Regions from separate parts of the Homo sapiens genome. Here regions 1 and 3 are each linked to region 2. The links are contacts of gene promoters, found by promoter capture Hi-C in blood cells and fetal thymus (Javierre and others, 2016). All regions are on one chromosome and are shown on one strand. Each heading gives the region's core, a stretch centred on a gene start or on the middle of the fragment in contact. The rest is flanking DNA. Distances are from core to core; before and after follow the strand shown. Region 1 overlaps TRIOBP (TRIO and F-actin binding protein). Region 2 holds the start of SH3BP1 (SH3 domain binding protein 1). Region 3 holds the start of EIF3L (eukaryotic translation initiation factor 3 subunit L).

Evidence for each region. The method cuts DNA at HindIII sites, captures the fragments that hold promoters and counts their contacts. A CHiCAGO score of 5 or more calls a contact.
Region 1: a fragment that was not itself captured here is called in contact with the fragment with the promoter of SH3BP1 in region 2 in 2 of 17 cell types (M0 macrophages and endothelial precursors); the score reaches 5.8 in M0 macrophages.
Region 3: the fragment with the promoter of EIF3L here is called in contact with the fragment with the promoter of SH3BP1 in region 2 in 1 of 17 cell types (erythroblasts); the score reaches 6.7 in erythroblasts.

The regions. Positions count from the first base shown.
Region 1 is chr22:37,770,790-37,774,519 of GRCh38, reverse strand. TRIOBP (TRIO and F-actin binding protein) reads right to left here. Exons shown (of 24, transcript NM_001039141.3): 22 at 2,784-2,870; 23 at 1,756-1,919; 24 at 1-737. The coding sequence ends at 1,758. Among named protein-coding and RNA genes, the nearest start is that of H1-0, 33 kb to the left of the region's middle. The HindIII fragment of the contact is 2,695 bases long and covers 662-3,356 here.
Region 2 is chr22:37,638,419-37,642,274 of GRCh38, reverse strand. It overlaps SH3BP1 (SH3 domain binding protein 1), which reads right to left and starts at 2,606. Exons shown (of 18, transcript NM_018957.6): 1 at 2,429-2,606; 2 at 1,107-1,149; 3 at 797-901. The coding sequence starts at 2,487. It overlaps PDXP-DT (PDXP divergent transcript), which reads left to right. Exons shown (of 6, transcript NR_109952.1): 6 at 1-443. RefSeq lists silencers at 2,389-2,828, 2,859-3,008, 3,639-3,856. The HindIII fragment of the contact is 8,436 bases long and covers 1-3,856 here.
Region 3 is chr22:37,846,814-37,850,687 of GRCh38, reverse strand. EIF3L (eukaryotic translation initiation factor 3 subunit L) reads right to left here and starts at 1,269. Exons shown (of 13, transcript NM_016091.4): 1 at 1,206-1,269; 2 at 625-673. The coding sequence starts at 1,238. It overlaps MIR659 (microRNA 659), which reads left to right and starts at 2,914; the gene lies at 2,914-3,010. It also overlaps a transcript of ANKRD54 not described here. RefSeq lists enhancers at 583-1,104, 1,105-1,627, 1,628-2,150. The HindIII fragment of the contact is 2,543 bases long and covers 370-2,912 here.

The DNA.
Region 1 (3,730 bases), core at 760-3,259, 130 kb before region 2:
GGACACCAGAGCTGCTGGAACGTTTTATTAAGTTAAGAGGTTCAGGGAGCAGAAGAGAAACACCTTTTGGGTGGCTCTGGCGGTTCTGCACCCAGCACAGCCTCGAAGGAGGCTGTGGGGCCATGGAGGCCAGCTGCTAGCTCCCTCTGTCCTGAGCCCCATGGTACGGGTCCAAATGGGGCAGGAAGTGTTAGTAGGAGGTAGGGCAGGAAGAGGGTGGCAGGCTCCCGCCTCTCCCCTGTAGAGACACCCCGCCATGGCTGCTGCCTGGGCCTCCGCCAGACCTCTGGGCCAGGGCCACCAGCTCAGAAGCCCAAGCAGAGGGTGGCTGGAGACAGAGGGGGACCAGGGTTGGAGGCACACAGCCACCAGGAATTGCTTTTTTTTTTTTTTTTTAAAGTATAAAGTGTTTTGGAAAAAAAGGAAAAAAATCTATATAAAAATCTCTTCACATATAAAATCCTGAAGAAGGTGCAAGGTGAGACCCAGTGCGAGGGGCGCGCTCAGATATGCAGTGTGTGTGTGTGTGTGTGTATCCGTGTGTACATGTGTGCACGTGTGTGCGTATGTGTCTGTGTGTCTGTGTGTGTGTGTGTGTGTGTGTGTGTGTGTGTGGTGGGTGCAAGTGCACGTGTGGCCCACAGAGGGTGGGGAGAAAGCTTGGCTTTTTACTTCCATCCAGGAGGGAAGGAGGGCGGCTGGTCCTCCAGCCTGGAGGGTCTGCAGCTGGGCGGGACCTGAAAGACAAGGTGCGGCAGGGCTGAGGCCTGGGCTGAGGGGCTGCGAGGCCACCCCAAGGCCAAGCAAGGGTGCTGAGTGGGTCCTTCCACCACCTCTCAGCCCCTAAGGTACAGCCAGATCCGCTCTTCCTGGCTCCTTCCCAAGCAGCTCAGCCATAGGGTGGCCTCTCCTGCATGCCATAGGAAGTCCATGAGGACTTATCAGAAAGAGGATGCTCCAGGTAGATGTGGCGTTGAAAAAGCAAAAATAAGAACACTTTGGCCAGGTGCAGCGGCTCACACCTGTAATCTCAGAATTTTGGGAGGCTGAGGCAGGTGTATTGCTTGAGCCCAGGAGTTCGAGACCAGCCTGGGAAATCACGGCGAAACCCCACCTATACAAAAAGTGCAAAAATTATCTGGGCATGGTGGTGAGGGCCTGTGGTCCCAGCTACTCAGAAGGCTGAGGTGGGAGGATCCCTTGAGCCTAGGAGGTTGAGGCTGCAGTGAGCCGTGATTGCACCACTGCACTCCAGCCTGGGTGTCAGAGTAAGACCTTTCTCAAAGCAACCAAAACCAACCAACCAACCAACCAACCAACCAACCAACCAACCAACCAACCACTTTGAGCCCTGCTAAGTCAAGAAGGAGTGTTAAGACTAACTGGGATAGAAGCCCGGCCTCAGCGTGCGATGTGTGTGTGTGAAGCTCAGTGGAGATTCACTGTGGGGGTCAGGGATGTGCACGCTGCATTTGCCTCCAGCCCCAAGAAGGGGGGTGCACTGAGTAGGCTGTGGCTCTGCACTGTGCCGCCCAGCTCTGGAGGAACAGGCTTAAGCTGATGAAGCAGCCTGTGGCCCGGGTCTGATGGGATCTCTGCAACAACCCCGTGTTGCTGGTTTCATTGTCCTTTTTACAGAACGGGAATTGGAGGCCAGAAGAAGGAAGTGGCCTGGCTGGGGTGGTCCAGGGAGTCCCGGGTGTGGGAGAGCCTCAGCCCCTGCCCACCCTGCAGGGCACACGCCTCGGCATCCACCTCTACTCAGCCAGGCTGTTGCGCATCGACTCCTTCTCCTGGAGGGCGGCCATGGCAAGACGCAGGTGCTCCTTCAGCTGCTCGATCTCCCGCTCAGACCGTGTCTTGATGTGGCTCAGCTCCACATAGACGTCCTGGTACTTTCCCGAGGTGAAGCGCTTGTCCTGGGGGGCAGGAGGCAGGTATGAGGGCATGAAGTCTCTCCCTCCAGCCCTGCCAACCGGGCACATGGGCAGCACCAGCAGCCAGACCTCCCCGCAGATACCTCGCTTCATCCCTCCAGGTGGCTCCCCAAGATGGCCGTGGGTTCTGGGCTTACCCCTCCCACCTCCCTGGTACCACCCAGGGACACAGGCGTCATTGTCATCCTCATCCTGTTTCGGGGGAGAAGATTTTGACCAAGACCGCAGGGCAGTGAGTGGCTGGGATGAGAACCAGGTCAGCCTGGCTGGGTGCTCGGGCCCTTCCTGTGAGTTCACGCCACCTGTTCTTCAAGTGCGGTAAACACGGTCTGGCTCACGTGCACTTACAGAGCCACCAACATGTCCACTTCCTGCCCCAAACTGACAGAGCGCACCAGGCAGTGACATAGCAGCCAAGGGTGGGCCAGGCGGGCTGCAGACTCAGACCTGGGCTGAACCCTGACCCACCCAACTCCTAGCAACGTGGTTATTCTCACTGGAGTGCAAGCTCCCCACAGCAGAGATTTGGGGTTATTTTGTTCACATCTGTCTTCCCAGCACCTAGCACAGTGCCCAGGATATAGTAGGTGCTCAATAATAATCAATAAATTAAATAATGCTAAATAAACAGAAGCCAAGTACAGCCTTGGGGAAGTCACTTCCCCTTTCTTAGTCTCAGTTTCCCTGTCAGTGAATGGGGATGATGACACCTACATGGGAGAAGCACAGGAGAGCCTGAGGAAGGATGAAGCGAGTGGAGGGCTTGGCACAGAGCAGGTGCTCACAGGATGGCATCCAGATGGCTCCAGAGTCCCCGACGGCCCCCAGCCCAGCGGAAGGACCTACCTTCTGCATCATCTGGAGCTCGTCCCGGAGGCACTGCACCTCCTTCTTTAGGTACTGGAGTTCGTTTTCTTTTACGCGAAGCAGCACCTGGGGATATAGGTGCTGGACTGACCCAGGGCCAGAAGCCAGAGCTACCCTGGCCCATAGTGCCCTGCAGCCCGGGTTCTCTCTGCCTCAGGCCCCTAGAATGCAGCCCCTATCTGCACAAAAACCCTCTACATCCTGGAGGCGGACTCCTCCAGGAAGCCCTCTCCGATTCCCCTGCTTTGCCTTCCCTTACTCTCACCCCTGTCCAGCCCGTGTGAGTGGATATCTCACGGTCAAGTCTGCTGCAGCCCTCATGCAGCACCAGGCTCTCACCTCGGGAGTGAGATGGATGAAAAGAAGCCCTACATAAACCTGAGCAGGCTGAACCACTCCACAAGGCACCTCATTAACCCCTCCCCAACCCCGAGGGCTAGGTGCTGCTGACTTGACCAAGGAGGAAACAAGTTCAGCCAGGACTGGGGAGGCTTAAAAGCTCAGACTGGAGCCAGACTGCCTGGTTCAAATCCCAGTCCAGCTATAAAAGCTTTGGTAAGGTACTTGACCTTCCTGTGCCTCAGTTTCCTCATCTGTAAATGGGGACAGTCATAGTAGCTAATGTATGGAGCTGTCAGGAAGATTAGATGAGTTAACAGACAAAAAGGGCTTCCAGAATTTCTAGGTACAGAGTGAGCCTCACCTAAGTGTTTGTTGAAGAAATAAAATATTGGGGCCAGGAGCGGTGGCTCACGCCTGTAATCCCAGCACTTTGGGAGGCAGAGGCGGGCGGATCACGAGGTCAGGAGATTGGGACCATCCCGGCTAACATGGTGAAACCCCGTCTCTACTAAAAATACAAAAAATTAGCCAGGTGTGGTGGCGGGTGCCTGTAGTCCCAGCTACTCGGGAGGCTGAGGCAGGAG
Region 2 (3,856 bases), core at 1,357-3,856:
GGGAAACTAAGATGCAGGGAGGGCAGGGAGCTTGCCCCAGGTCACACAGGTGGAGGGAGAATGGGAGCGGGAGCTCTTTCCCCTGTCCCAGGGTATATATGGCTGACCTAGCCACCGCTGAGTTCAAACGCTCTATGGCTCCCAATTTCCTTGCCTTGGCCACACTGAATTGTCAACTGATTCCAAAACATGGCCCCACACTCCCACCCCATCTGGAGTTACGGGGAATGCCTGCTCTGGGATCAGAGACCAGGGTTCAAACCTCAGTTCTGCCACTTACTAGCTATGTGACCTTGGACAAGTGACTTTATCTCTGAGCCTCCAGTTCCTCATGTGTAAAGCAATGCCTGCCCCTAGGGTTGTGCCAGTGTTCCATGAGACAGTGCACTCATATGTTAGTAACAAGCTGGCGGTTATCAGCCAATAAACGCTGCCTCTTGATTAATAAACGTGTATCCCTCAAAAGCCAGCTCAATTGCTACCTCCTTCAGGAAACCCTCTGAGGCCGCCCCATTGACAGCCTGCTCTTGCGCACTGATTGGACAGAGAAGTTCAGGTGCTGTCAGAAGCCTGGCCTTGGCTTATGGGAACTGGTGCACAGGGAAGTGGGGTAAAGGTGATGGGGAAGGTATAGGGCCTCTTGAGTGCAGTGCCAGAGGGGCCTTGGAACAGAGCAGTCTCCATGCCCTTGGTGCCAGACACTCAGACTGGCAAGGAAACCCCAGCCCCGACCTTGCTTCCCCATTGGATGGAAGTCTCCTGCTCAGGCCCCTCCTTCCCGGGACCCCCCACTCACCACCCGCTTGTCCATGTCTGCCCCGCTCTGGCCCTGCAGACAGGCCTGCAGCCGCTTGTGGATGTTGTGGGCTGCCCGCTTGGCCGGCTCCAGCCGCTGTTCTACCTGGGAAGGAGGTATGGAGGTTAAGGATCAAGAGAGGCTGTCTCCCCCTGAGCAGGAAACTTTCTCCTGTCCCCTGGGGACCCCATGGCCAACAGCTTGAGGAATGACTCAACCCAGGCCCCTACCTGGCGTCCCCGCCCCGGCCCTCTGCTCCGAGACAGCCTGCACAGGCCTGCCTTCCCACCTGCCCGGCCCAGGCACGTACCTGCAGCAGGTCCTCACCCAGGAACTCAGCGGTCTCCGGGGTGCTGCGGGGAGTGGTGGGGGGGGGGGGGAGAGTGCTTCTGCTGAGCCTGCCTGGGTTAGAACGCCCCCTACTTCCCTTCCCCGCAGCAGGGCACCTGGACCCCAGTGCTTCCACTGTCCCTCCCAGCTGAGGCCTGCCCTGGGTGGCCCAGTTGCTTCATCCCAGTCGGAGCACATTCCATGGGGGTGGGAATAGGATACATGGGTTTTTCCTCCTCCACCCAGGGCTGTGTCCTGAGAGAGGGCGGACAGATGAAACTAAAGGGGAGGCTGAGAGACCCACCCGGGGCCCAGCTTTGGGACACAGAAGCCTCTTTTCTGCCCACTCCCAAATCCTCAGCCCACCCCGGGATGAGGAGTATTAGCTGGCCCCAAGAACGGGAAGTGCAGGAGCTCAGACTCCTAGGCACAGTCACACAGCACTCTGGACTACAGCTGTGGGCAGGGGTGCACAGGCCCTTGGCCCCCACCTGGGGACACATGGGGGATGCCAAGGCCCACTGCAAGGTGGTCTGACTGTCCAGGCTATGTAGGCATCTGTGCCAGTGTGAGACTAGAACCAGGTCTCTGGACACCCAGTCCCCTCCCTGGACCCAGAGAATGGGGAACTCCTGAGGCTGGGGGAAGAGGAGCAGAGAAGACAGGCTCTGAGAGGCTCCCCAAACTTCCGGCCTCCGTGCCACCGGCTCAGAGGCTGGGGGTGGGAGCTGGGAGACCTGGGGATATTTCCACCTGAGTCCAGGAAAAGCAGAAACGAGACAGAAGCAGGAGGCCCCTGGGCTGGGGGGAGGGGGAGGGGGAGGGACGCTGCAGGCCAGGGGCAGGCCCCTCCTCCCACCAGGCCAGGACCCATCTCCTCCCCTCGCCCCAGGTCTGTGGCCCTAATCGACCCTCCTCCCTCCCCGGCCCAGCAAGCAGAGGTGGTGAACTGTCCCATTGTCCAGAGGGGACAAGTGAGGTCAGGAGGACCATCCACTTAGAGACTCGTGGAGGCAGAGAAGTCCCAGCGTCCTAGGGCAGAGAGCATTCTCCCGCCTGAAGCCCCCTCCAATCCGGTAAGGGGGGGCATCCCTTCCCCCAAAGGCCACCCTTGCTCCTCCAGCTCTGCCCGAGAGACGGGGGCGGCGTTCAGAGAGGAGGAAGAGAGAGCAGGAGTCTGGCCGCTCAGAGGGTGGCTGCCCAGCTGTCCCCAGCCTCCCCCACCCCCGTCTCCCCCGACCCTTTTACGACCCCTCAAGTCCTGCCGGGGTAAGAGTGGGGCTGGAAGCGGGTGACACTCACCGTCCCAAGCTGCCCGTCTGGGCCAGCTGCCGCATGCGGTGCAGCTGCCTCTTCATCATCTTGGGGGCGAGCTGGGGGCTGCGGGGTCACGGCGGGGGTCGCGGGCCCGGGGAGCCCCCGGTCCAGCCTGCCTCTCCTGCGGCGCGGCTCTTGCCCCGGATGGGTGGGCGGCGCTCTCGCTTCCTGGGCCGCCGCGCGGCTCTTGCTGGCGGCCGGCTCTCTCCTCCCCCGCTCACGACTCCGCCCCCGGCCCCCAGGTCACTCCTCTCTCCAAGTTGGTTTCCTCGCTCTTCCCCGGCTTCCGGGCCCCCGGGCGACCCCCGGCCGGGCCCCCGCTGCTGTGTGTCCGCCGGCCGCGGCCGTCCACAGGTTGTGCCCGGCTCCTCCTCCCCGCAGCGCCCCGCCCAGCCCCGGTGGCGGGAAGCAGGTAAGCCCATTCCTGCCCCTGCGCCCGCAACCCGCCCCAGGCGGGGTGCCTGCCCCACCCGCAGCCTGCAGACCCGAAGTATAAATAACCTTTGCATCCCTCGCAAAGAGGAAAGGGTACCAAGCGAAAGAGGGGTAGGCCTTTCTGACCTGTCCTGGCCTCTCTGGGCCTGCCGCGGATACTGCCTTGCACTCTCTTCCGCAGAGGACCTCTGGCCCCCTGGAACTAAACCCCCCACCACTGGATGACTGGCTGGGAGCTTTGGCTTCCTGGGGCCACGGGCTGCTGTGTGGCCGTGGACAAGCCCCTGGAACTCCGGACTCGCTGTTTCTAATGGTCTGATGGGCCAGCTGTCCTGGGCCTGCCCATTCTGCAGAGTGGACAAGACACCCCTGCCAGCTCCCTTTAAGGGAGGTGCGTGCCACCCCTCAGCCACCAGGAACCCTCCCAGAGCGGTTCGCGACACCCTGTTCTCCACATCTCCTGGCAGTTTGCTCCATCTGTGAAGCCCGTCTCCTCTCATTCCTCCTGGCAAACAGCCTCAGTCCCCCTTCCTTCTTGTAGGGCAATGATGTAGGTGCTGCTCTGACTGCCCCCAAACTCAGTAGTTCTCCTCTTTGGCCCTCCACTCAACACAGAGTTAGGCATACAGTAAGTGCTCCATAACTGCTGGTTTTACAAGATGTGAGCGCCTTTAGGAAACAGTAGGCTCTCCTTACCCTGCACCCCTGTGGCATCAGGAGCCGCAGGCGTGGGGAAGAGGGGAGGGTGTGCCCCAGAGTCCTGCCACACCCTCTGCACTTTGCTTTGTTAGTTTCAGTTTAGTTTGAGACTATTTGAGCCACTACTGTGTGCCGGTGCAGACTGTGTGCCGGTGCAGACTGGGCGCCTCTCAGAGGCAGGACCTTGGCCCCACACATCTCCATACTCCCAGCACCTAGCCCAGGGCCTGGCACACTCACTGGCTGCTTCTCTCCTCCCTAATGAGGCAGGACTCATTG
Region 3 (3,874 bases), core at 20-2,519, 210 kb before region 2:
GGCTTGGTTTGAATTACTTAAATTTTTCACATCAAGATTTTCTTCCTTGGGGCAGGCGCGGTGGCTCACGCCTGTAATCCCAGCACTTTGGGAGGTTGGGGCGGGTGGATCACCTGAGGTCAGGAGTTCAAGACCAGCCTGGACAACACGGCGAAACCTCGTCTCTATTAAAAAAATTTAAAAATTAGCTGGGAATGGTGGTGGGCGCCTGTAATCCCAGCTACTCAGGAGGCTGAGACAAGAGAACTACTGCTTGAACGAGGGACGCGGAGGTTGCAGTGAGCCGAGATCGCACCACTGCACTCCAGCCTGGGGGACAGAGGGAAACTCCATCTCAAAAACAAAAACAAAAACAAAAACAAAAAAGCTTTTCTTATTTGGCTAATAGTTTACACAAGAAAACCATAGCCAGGTAAGTAATCCTTCTCTTCCAAGACTGAGGTGGACTATGATAAAAAGCCTGGTTTATTAGGCTTTATAAAACCCCTCGCACTGGCAGCTAATGACTGACTCCAAACCTGGACCATCAAAGAGCAATTTTTGATGCCTGTCAGAGCTGGTTCTAAGACATTCCAAAGGAACTGATCCCTACGAGTACTCAGCCAGCCTAACCCGTGGTCTCACCTGTGTGCATATCATAGTCGCTGGGATAAGCGTAGGGGTCATAAGCCGCCTAGAAGGAAAGAGACACAGTCAAGGACAGCCGCCAAGTCGTGAATTCAAAACGCTCATCCTAGAGTCTAGATGCCAAGCAGAGAGCTAAGGATACAGAGGCGAATAAGACACTGTGCCTGCCTTTGAGGAACTCACACGCCTTAGAGAAAAGGGACAGTAAACAGACAATGACAATACAACATTACGGGTGCAATGAGGTGGAGCAAAGGACAAGAGGCTGTGGGAATCAGCGAGATTTGACCAGACGGAGCCTAGACCAAAAAAACTCAGGTGCAGAAACACAGAAACGTCTAACAGGCCTTAGTCTCCGGTCTTAGAAAGGGGAAGGACAAGCCAATCGAACACGCGAAGTGGGCGGGCAGAGCCAGGGTTGTCTAGGGACCGGGAACTGTGGGAGCAGCCTGAGGGCCGGGCGGGAGGTCGGCCGGAGCTGGCCGCGACCCGGAAGCTGCCTCGCGCCGGGACCCACATCCAGTGGTCCCAGAGATCACCCCGTCGTGGAGCCCACCGCGCCCTTACGGCCACCTTACCTCAGACTCATAATCATCAGCGGGATAAGACATGGCTGCCTCGCTTGCGAGCACCGCCGGAAAGAGCGAAATGAGCGGCCCGCGCCTGCGTCCTGAGGCCGGAAGTTCAGCCCCACTCGGGCCTGCCGGGAAACCGGAAGCCTTTCCGAGGCCTCTGGCCATCTGAGACAGCCATATCCAGAAGGAAGAGGAGCCGCGTTCCGTGGCTCACACCTGTAACCCCACCAGTTTGGGAGGCCGAGGCGGGCGGATCACCTGAGGCTGAGGCCGGGGGTTTGAGACCAGCCTGACCAATATGGAGAAACCCCGTCTCTACTAAAAATACAAAATTAGCCGGGAGTGGTGGCGCATGCCTGTAATTCCAGCTACTCGGGAGGCTGAGGCAGGAGAGTCGCTTGAACCCGGGAGGCGGAGGTTGCGGTGAGCCGAGATCGCGCCATTGCACTCTAGCCTGGGCAACAAGAGGGAAAACTCCGTCTAAAAAGAATAAGAGGGTTACAAGTAGCCTGAATTTTCCTCTCTTCAAATAGGGACTTCTCAAAGAAGGTGAATCTATAATAGTGGTGTAGATTCAGATATAAGGACACGTATTTGGCGTAAAGGAGAGGCAAAGTTAGAGGAACCAGAAAGAATGCTACACAAAAGATGGCCGGCTTCTCGCGTGAAGGAAGATTCGGATACGGGGGCCTGATGGATTTAGTTGTAGGCGGTTTGCCTGCAGCGAGTAAATTATTCAAACGTTCGGACTTCACAAGACTAAACTTACTGGGGATAAAAATTGAGATTTGGCCGGGCGCGATGGCTCACGCCTGTAATCCCTACACTTTGGGAGGCCGAGGCGGGTGGATGATCTGAGATCAGGAGTTCGAGACCAGCCTGGCCGAAATGGCGAAACCCCGTCTCTATTAAAAATACAAAAATTAGCCGGGAGTGGTAGCGTCCGCCTGTAATCCCAGCTACTCAGGAGGCTGAAGCAGGAGAATCGGTGGAACCTGAGAGGCAGAGGCTGTAGTGAGCCGAGATCGCGCCACTGCACTCCAGCCTGGGCGACAGAGCAAGACTCCGTCTAAAAAAAAAAAGAAAAAAAAAAATTGAGATTTGGTCCCATGCAGTAAGAGGGAATGGAGAACAGGAGCCACCCAACTTTGGACATTAAAGTTGGAGCAGGCAAAGATGAGGCCAGCTGTGTCGCGAAGCCTGGGACATGGGCAGCTCTTGAGTACACCGGGTTCGAGGCCAGGGGAAACCCTCAAGGTAGAGATGGGGTTATAAAGCAAACCAATAAAAACCGGTGTATGAGTCAAGGAGAGGCCTTAGTTTAGCCATCTGCCCATACACAACACCTAGTGGAAATCCGAGTTCCAGTCCCTACTCCGCCACTGATTTGCTGTGTGACCAGGACTCTCTGGGTCCCTTTGTCACGCCGCCCTCCTTGCTTTTCCCACTGAGGCACGCTCCACCTCTGGGATTTTGCACTCACTGTTATCCAAGTCTAGAATCGAATGCAGTGGCACCCCCACTCCCATTCCCTTCCCCATCGGTATCTGCATGGCACCTTCAGGTGTCTGCTCTGATGCCATCCACTCAACATCCTATTGAGAATTGCAATGCCCAGCCCCAACTCCCTATGCTGCGTTCTTGTTTTGTGTTTCTTCCTTGTGCTGTCACCAGAGGTGACACAAATTTGGAAATAATGGAGCTTAAGCTTTACCGACCCTCGATTTGGTTCAGGACCTTCCCTGAACCAAGGAAGAGTCACAGTCTCTTCCTTGGTTCAGGGAGGGTCCCCAACAATGTCCTCATGGTCCTTTGCTTTTGTAAAATTTGTGAAATATTTTTATTGCTGAAACCACCTTTGCAAAAATTGTAACAGTGAGAAAATAATGACAGTGAAAGAGATCTGATCTAACCAACCCTCATCTTCCATTTAATCTTCAGACTGCCCTTAATCATTCCTGGCTCGAACCGAGCTAACTTTGGGAGACATTTAGTTTCTAGTTTAAATAATAACCCTTCTCCGAGGCCTGGCACAGTGGTTCACACCTGTAATCCCAGCACTTTGGGAGGCCAAGGCAGATGGATCACCTGAGGTCAGGAGTTCGAGACCAGCCTGGCCAACATAGTGAAACCCCGTCTCTACTAAAAATATAAAATTAGCCGGGCATGGTGGCATATGCCTGTAGTCCCAGCTACTCGGGAGGCTGAGGCAGGAGAATCACTTGAACCTAGGAGGCGGAGGTTGTGGTGAGCCAAGATTGCACCACTGCACTCCAGCCTGGGCAACAAGAGCAAAACTGCCTCAAAAAAAAAAAGAAAAAAGAAAAGAAATTGGCCGGGCGCGGTGGCTCACGCCTGTAATCCCAGCACTTTGGGAGGCCGAGGCGGGTGGATCATGAGGTCAGGAGATCGAGACCATCCCGGCTAAAATGGTGAAACCCCGTCTCTACTAAAAATACAAAAAATTAGCCGGGCGTAGTGGCGGGCGCCTGTAGTCCCAGCTACTTGGGAGGCTGAGGCAGGAGAATGGCGTGAACCCGGGAGGCGGAGCTTGCAGTGAGCCGAGATCCTGCCACTGCACTCCAGCCTGGGCGACAGAGCGAGACTCCGTCTCAAAAAAAAAAAAAAGAAAAGAAATTACCTGAAATCTTATAGTCCATATATGACAGGAA